Linked DNA regions of Homo sapiens: region 1 is linked to region 2. The links are contacts of gene promoters, found by promoter capture Hi-C in blood cells and fetal thymus (Javierre and others, 2016). All regions are on one chromosome and are shown on one strand. The core of a region is centred on a gene start or on the middle of the fragment in contact, and the rest is flanking DNA. Distances in the headings are between cores, read along the strand shown. Region 1 overlaps WDR26 (WD repeat domain 26). Region 2 holds the start of NVL (nuclear VCP like).

What was found. Contacts are between HindIII fragments. The CHiCAGO score rates a contact against its expected background, and 5 or more counts as called.
Region 1: a contact is called between a fragment that was not itself captured here and the fragment with the promoter of NVL in region 2, in 1 of 17 cell types (non-activated CD4 T cells). The highest score is 5.7, in non-activated CD4 T cells.

The regions. Positions count from the first base shown.
Region 1 is chr1:224,423,418-224,427,281 of GRCh38, forward strand. It overlaps WDR26 (WD repeat domain 26), which reads right to left. Exons shown (of 14, transcript NM_001379403.1): 4 at 1,101-1,237. Among named protein-coding and RNA genes, the nearest start is that of WDR26, 9.4 kb to the right of the region's middle. The HindIII fragment of the contact is 504 bases long and covers 1,358-1,861 here.
Region 2 is chr1:224,328,645-224,332,889 of GRCh38, forward strand. NVL (nuclear VCP like) reads right to left here and starts at 1,528. Exons shown (of 23, transcript NM_002533.4): 1 at 1,427-1,528. The coding sequence starts at 1,483. RefSeq lists enhancers at 1,096-1,235, 1,286-1,335, 1,526-1,575, 1,596-1,745. The HindIII fragment of the contact is 14,633 bases long and covers 1-4,245 here.

The DNA of each region.
Region 1 (3,864 bases), core at 360-2,859, 95 kb after region 2:
TTGAGTGCATTTATCATGAAGGGGTGAATCCAGAATTTTGTTTTGAGGCTGGGTGCAGTGGCTCATGCCTATTAACCCAGCACCTTGGGAGGCCGAAGCAGGTGGATTGCTTAAGGTTAGGAGGAGTTCAAGGCCAGCCTGGGCAACATAGCGAGACCTGTCTCTACAAAAAATGAAAAAATTAGCCACATGTGGTGGTACATGCCTGAAATCCTACCTACTTAGGAGGGTGAGGCAGGAGGATGGCTTGAGCCCAGAAACTAGAGGTGGCAGTGATCTATGATTGTGCCACTGCACACCAGCCTCATACAACTGAGACATCTATTAAACATCCAAGTGGAGAATGTCAGGTATGCCAGTAGATATACATATTGGGAGTTCAGATGAGAAGCTAAATTTAAGAGCCACTGGTATACAGATAGTATGTGAAGGCATGGTATAGAATGAGATTACCTAAAAAGAGTATGTAGATAGAGAATAAAGAGGCCCAGGATCAAACCTTTGGGTACTCTAACATTTTAAGGATTAATGTGGCGAGGTACAGTGACTCATGCCTGTAATCCCTGCACTCTGGGAAGATCACAGGAGTTTGAGATCACACTGGACAACACTGTAAGACCCTGTCTCTACCCTTCACCCCCCAAAAAAGGACTGATGTTGATGTGAGGATTAAATGAGGCTGTTTATGTGAAAAGCTTAGCAAGGGCCTGGCACATGACAAGTATTCACTTAAAAAAGTTAGTGTGCACCAATACTGGAAATGTCATTGTTTACTGTGATCCATATCATATGATTTTTATTTTGTTTTTAACTACAAAAGCTGTCCTTGGAATGTAATAGGGTTTTCATAGAACATTCTAAAATAGCATTTCACAGGCAATACATATTTTCTTCTCCCTTTCACCCACTTAAATATATCTCTATCCTAATCTGAACAGTTTCCTAGAATGACCAAAATAGTTGATCCACACAGGAGTGAGTTTACCTAGACAAATATCTAAGAATTTAGCAATAATCAAGATTTTATATTTTGGAAAAATGTTAAAGAAATATAACTTTGGCCCTCCATTAACCTGAGTTCAAGAACTCAGTTTCCTTACCCACTAAGAACATGAATGCGCTCTGTATTGTATTTCAGCGGCGTCAATTCACAGCGTAGAACTTGAAGTGCCTCCAGGACCTTGCCATCCTCCAGGTATTCTAGGTACTTCTGCTGCAGCAGCAAAAACTTCATCCTCTGACATGACAGAAAGCAGCAGTCAGGGGAAAAAAGTTGATGGAAGTTTCAGAAAATGTTTGTGCCTAAACAGAACAGTAGAAACCATTCTACTATGCCCTTTGAAATAACTTTTTATAAAGCTTCAAGATGACTCAAAATATTTTAGTTTAGTAGAGCCACAGTAGATTAAATGTGACTTTGCTCAATTCCACATCTTACTAAAACTCTGCTTTGAACAAATAATCTCAAATCAGACTAGATCATTAGTGACTGAGGCATCAGCCTTGGAAAAAATGAATTCTCCTCTCAAAGCAATCTCCTACAATTGTAGTTCTTGTATAAAAATTTAGAACTATTCCAAGTACTTGAAATTTGCTTTTTAAGAAGTATGACTTTATAACTAGGGCACTGGGGGGTTTTATGCAACAAGTTTTGAAAAGATTAGAGAAAAAAATAGCAAATGAACTATTTAAGTCACAATGTGAAAGAGGGAATAAGTAGACCAGAAATCAGAACTAGACACACTCAGGAGAAGGAGAAAAGTATATTTTGGCTTATCAAAAGTTAAGAGCTGTCCAACAAATGTACTACAAGTTGGTGTGCAAAGTATTGAATTTCCTACAACTAACGTGGACAAGCATAAGCTTGATGCACTCACTCTCTTCTAGGCGGCTATTAAGGGATGTCTACGTTAGATGGTTGAACTTAAAGGTTTTTAAAAAGATTCAATATTTGTACTTGTGTATTTCTGACAATCTGATCACTGATGCATTTAAAAGTGAAGCACAGGAAATTATTATTCGCTCTTTTCTCCCCTAAACCAATAAACCACTTTCCAGCTGTGAGACACTTTCACATTTAGTTTTTTCCTGAACTGTGTTTTTGACTTTAATACTTTTAAATGCTACTTTATTATTTTACTTTTAACTTGAAACCACGTGGTCACAATCTTAGCAGTTTTTTACAAGAGAAAAGGGATATTTATAAACATCATTTTGAAACTTCTTTTAAACCTTAAACCTAATTAAGGACCACAGGTTGGAGGGACCTTTTCATCATAGTTGCTACTTGTGGAGCTTGAGCAAGCCAATTAATGTAAACAGAGACATCAGTAGGTAGGAAATGTTAGTCATATTTAGAGACTCCAAGGAATACAGCGGTAAAGATCTCAAGTCCACTTAAAATTAAAACTTAAAGTACAATTTTTCTTCTTCGTAAGATGCTTTTCTTCTTTTTTTTTTGAGACAGAGTCTCACTGTGGCCCAGGCTAGAGTGCAGTGGCGTGATCTTGGCTTACTACAACCTCTGCCTCCTGGGTTCACGCGATTCTCCTGCCTCAGCCTCCTAAGTAGCTGGGATTACAGGCACCCGCCACCACACCCAGCTAATTTTTGTATTTTTAGTAGAGACAGGGTTTTGCCATGTTGGCCAGGCTGGTCTTGAACTCCTGACCTCAAGTGATCTGCCCACCTTGGCCTCCCAAAGTGCTGGGATTACAGGCATGAGACACCGCACCCGGCCCAAAATGCTTACTTTAAAACCATAAAAAAATACACTGCTGTCACGAAATGCTGTGGAGAAATTACCATTTATTTGCAGAATTAACAGTATAATAAACTGCTCTACAAGATTTTCTATCAAGGAGTATTTAGAAGAGAGATATAAACTGTAAGCTTATAAAAGTGGTTTCTAGAGAAAGTAAGCAATAATAAACCCTCTCATATAAGTTAGGCATGTATTTAAATTTATAAGATACATTTCTTTTGCTTGATACAAATCTCATCTTAAATATACGGCTAAGGAACAGAAAAAAATTCAAACTGAGACACTCCTGTAACTCTGGGAAAATTACACTTATCAAATTTTACATATAAATTTAGAATGACTAATGAATGTTTCAGAAATACATTAATTACCAAGATGCTCTGAAAAGTACATTACTGTACATACAGCCTGAAGTTAACCTTTCTATGTTAAATGAAAAAACTTTGTCATTCATCAGGTCACAGAAACCAAAAACTAAACAATGCAAAAAAAAAAAAAATCTAAAAATAAAAGAATTTTATATTTGAAGTTATTCTGGATATTCGCACCATTTTAGCTTCTGAAAAAAATGCAACTATGAAATGAAGACCTCATATATTTTCATTTATCAATATAATGTTAAAAGTTTCATTCCACCGGGTGTGGTGGCTCACACCTGTAATCCCAGCACTTTGGGAGGCTGAGGCGGGTGGATCACGAGGTCAGCAGTTCGAGACCAGCCTGACAAACATGGTGAAACCCCGTCTCTACTAAAAAAAAAAATACAAAAAAATTAGCTGGGTGTGGCAGCGGGTGCCTGTAATCCCAGCTACTTCGGAGGCTGAGGCAGGAGAATCGATTGAAACTGGAAGGTGGAGGTTGCAGTGAGCCGAGATTGTGCTACTGCACTCTAGCCTGGGCAACGAGAGCAAAACTCTGTCTCCAAAAAAAAAAAAAAAAAAAAAAAGTTTCATTCCATTTTGTGGTATTTTTTAAATTCAAACTTGAAAATCTTATTCAGTTGCAGAACTTTTTCATTTAAATGTCACATGGAACTGGCCAGAGCATGAGATGTAATTTCTTCACTAAATTTTCTTAGTAATTGGGAATTGAGGGGCTTA
Region 2 (4,245 bases), core at 278-2,777:
AAGTAAAGCCAACCAGGCTGTTGACAGATGGTATACAGGAAATGAAAGACTCAGAATGATCCTTAAGGTTTTTGGCCTTAACAACAGGACGAACGGTAGTATCATTTACTGAGATACAGAACACTAAGAAAGGGCAGATTTGAAGGAAGAAAAAAATCACAAATTCCACTTGGCCATTTTAATTTGGAGATATGCTGACTAGGCAGCTGGATATATCAATCTGTACTTCAAGATAAAATCTGGACTGGAGATATAAAGTTAGCAGTCATAAATATACAGAGGCCAGTGCAGCAGCTTGCACCGGTAATCCCAGCACTTTGGGAGGCTGAGGCCCGATCGCTTGAGCCCAGGAGTTAGAGACCAGCCAGAGTAACATAGTGGAACCCCGTCTCTACAAATAATAATAATAATAATAAATTAGCCAGGTGTGGTGGTGCACACCTGTAGTCCCAGCTACTGGGGAGGCTGAGGAGGGAGGATCACTTGAGTCAGGGAGGCCGAGGGTGCAGTGAGTTATGATTGTGCCCATAAACAGCCACTGCACTCTAGCCTGGGCAACAGAGCGAGACTATGTCTCAGAAAAATAAAAATAAAATGAAATAAATACATAGATAATAGAGTATGTAGATACTACTCAAAGGTTATTACACTAAATGAGATCACATAGGAAGTATGGATAGATAAGAAAGGTGTATGAGGAAAGAGGAGGAAGGGGAGGTAAGAGAACAGTGGCACAGAGCACTTCCAACATTTACAAGTTGGTAGGAAAAGATGGGTCCGAAAAGGAGATTGTTTAGGGGCTGGTGAAGTGAAAGAAAAACAAGGAGAATGTGTAGCTCACAAATTCCTAAGTGAAGAAAATTCTCTCCCACCTTTTAACTCAGACTGCTTGCTTACATTCTGAGGTATTTGCCACACACTGCTTTTTACTGATGGTCATGAAAATGAGAAAACCGTAGGCAAAGTGCCTGTTACTGTTGCCAGACCCATGTTATCTCGTTTTAGTGTGTAAGTTCCTTGAGAACGGAAATTAACATATTATTTATGCCACCCCTTCTCAAGGACCTCTTACAATGCGAGCGTTTGAAGACCATTCCTGTGCTAACTTCACAAGCCAAAGAGGTTAAAATTCAAAGGCTACCTCCACTCTACTGAATGATCTGCGCTGAAGACGACCAGACAACTTGGGCAGCCCTACCAAGCTGCACCCTCCCACCATCCCCGGCTTCTCCCTGAGACTCCGCACCAACGTGGGTAGGGAAGGCCCCGGCAGCACCAACTAAGGAGAAACAGACGCACGCCCAGACCCAGACTGGGGAAAGAAGACTAGTTGAGTTCCACCTGGATGCCACCCGACAAAAGGGGAGTGGCACCCTGGGGCAGCGATCGGGGCCCTTGGCGAGGCCAAGCGGTGCAGAATACACACCTGGATGACTCGCTGCTTGAGTTTATTATCCACGAACCCTGCAGGTCTGGGCTTCATCGCGTCGGTCTTCCAAGCCACAGCTCGGACCGCCAGCTCCTAGTCAACCGGGGGCCTCGTAGGGGTTGCCCGCCGCGATCGCCGGGCCAGTTGCACCTGAAATGCGCCCCTCCTGGGGCCTAGCCCGCGCCGTTTCCGTCAGAATAAAAGTAATGCGAATGAAGGGGAAAAAATTCCGAGGAGAGGGAGAAGACTTGAAAACCTCAGGGAGTTTCTAGGGGCCTTATTTTGCAGGCCTGCCCAGTGGACCCTGGAAGATTAGGACCCCTTTGAACGCGCTCAACTTTATTGGTTCCCCGCCGGGCGAACCAGGTGGGAGGAAGTTCCTACCCCGGCGCGGTGTGCGGAGACGCTGTCAACGGCGTCCTCTGGAAAACTTGGTTTGCTTTCCTCAGGCGTTCCAGCCACACCTCATTCTGATACAAAGCTAGTCTTCGCAAAACCAGCCACGGTAGATACTTGGAGTGATAAAATCAGGGTAAAAACACACCACCAGCCGCTGCTTGCTTTCCCACGTAGTTATCTTACATTTTAGAGGCCCGACAAAAGGGCTAGGTGAAAAAGAAAAGGAAGGACGGATTTATCCAGATAACTAAGTCATTTGTTACTTTTAGAACTCGTTTGACTTACGCTGTTATCATCGGCAGGTAATTTGTTGAATATATCCAGTGCAGGACTCCTTGGCCCAGAATTTTATCAAACGTTTGTATTTGCCCCAAGAAGTTTATCCTGCACTTAGGGAGACACAAAGGGACAGTTACCAAGCATTAAAAAAAAAATGCTGGCTTTAGTTTCTGTCTTCTTGTTTATTTCAACCGTGTTTTGAGTATTCTTATTTCAGGTCCTCCTTGGCTTATGACAAGGTTAAGTGCAGTGTATTAAGGGGCAGAGGGGAGAGAAAATGGAATTAAGAGAAGGGCGTGAGGCCGGGCACGGTGGCTCACACCTGTAATCCCAGCACTTTGGGAGGCCGAGGCGGGCAGATCACTTGAGGTCAGGAGTTCACGACCAGCCTGGCCAACATGGTGAAACCTTGTCTCTACTAAAAATATAAAAATTAGCACTGAATTAAGTATTAGATTTCCCACTCAAAATATTGATCCGTTTGGTTGCAACTTCATTTCCTACTTCTTCACTATGTGTAGTTTTATTTTTTATTTTTTTAGTTGTAAAATATAAGAACATTCACCATCTTAAACATTTTAAAGTGTGCAGTTTAGTGATAATACATTCATAATATGCAACCATCACTGCCATCTAGTTCCAGAACTCTTTTCATCTTGTACAACTAAAACTCTATACTAATTAAAAAATAACTCCCCATTCCTCCCTCCCCCCAGCCCCTGGCAACTACCATTCTACTTACTGTCTTTATGATTTTGACTACACTAACTTCCTCATATAAGTGGAATCTTCCAGTATTTGACTTTTGTGACTGGCTTGTTTCTTAGCTTAATGCCCTCATATAGCATGTGTTAGAATTTCCTTCTTTCTTTTCTTTTTTTTTTTTTTTTTTTTTTGATACAGAGTCTTGCTCTGTTGCCCAGGCTGGAGTGCAGTGGCGCAATCTCAGCTCACTGCAACCTTCGCCTCCTGGGTTCAAGAGATTCTACCACCTCAGCCTCCCAAGTAGTTGGGACTACAGGTGTGTACCACCACACCCGGCTAATTTTTTGTATTTTTAGTAGAAATGGCGTTTTGCCATGTTGGCCAGGCTGATCTCCAACTCCTGACCTGAGGTGATCCACCTGCCTTGGCCTCCCAAAGTGCTGGGATTACAGGTATAAGCCACCGCACCTGGCCTTTCCTTCACTTTTAAGGCTGAATAAAATTTGGCTCTTTTGTTGCCATTCTGCCTTTTGCCATGGGATGACACAGCAAGAAGGCCCTCACCAAATAACAACTCCTTGATATTGGACTTTCCAGCCTTCTTGCATTCATTCAACAAGTGTTTATTGAGTGCCTACCAGTTTCAGTCTCTGCTCTGCGCTTTAGGCTTGTGGGGAAAAGTGGAAGAATTATAACTAACTTTTTATAACATTTAAAAAATTTGATTAGGTATTTATGTGCTTGATTAAATGTTAGCAAAGATTCCCTACAGCATATAGTACAAATGTAGTCAATGCTCAGTAATTTTTAAAATGAAATGTAATTCTGTGCATGCCAAATGTCCAACATAGAATGAAAACACACTGAGGCCAGGCATGGTGGCTCATGCCTATACTACCAGCACTTTGGGAGGCAGAGGCAGGTGGATCACCTGAGGTCAGGAGTTCAAGACTAGCCTGACCAATGTGGTGAAACCCTGTCTCTATTAAAAATACAAAATTATCCGGGTGTGGTGGCCCATGCCTGTAATCCTAGCTACTTGGGAGGCTGAGGCAGGAGAATCACTTGAACCTGGGAGGCAGAGGTTGCAGTGAGCTGAGATTGCGCCATTGCACTCTAGCCTGGGCAACAAGAGCAAAACTCCATCTCAAAAAAACGAACAAATAAACAACCACATTGAAAGGCCTAGTAGTATCATGACATGTACTAGGCAATATAGTTTATTAGTCTATAATTTGTCATAGAATACTATCCTACACTTAGGGTTGACTTCATGGGTATGTGACCTCTGCAGTCACACAGGGCCCTGTGCTCAGAAGGGCCCCACAGGTGGTTTAATGCTGTACTGTTGCCATCTTGAAATGCTTTCTGAATAAGCTGTCCCTTATTTTCATTTTGCACTGGGTCTTACAAATTATGTAACCAGCCATTCA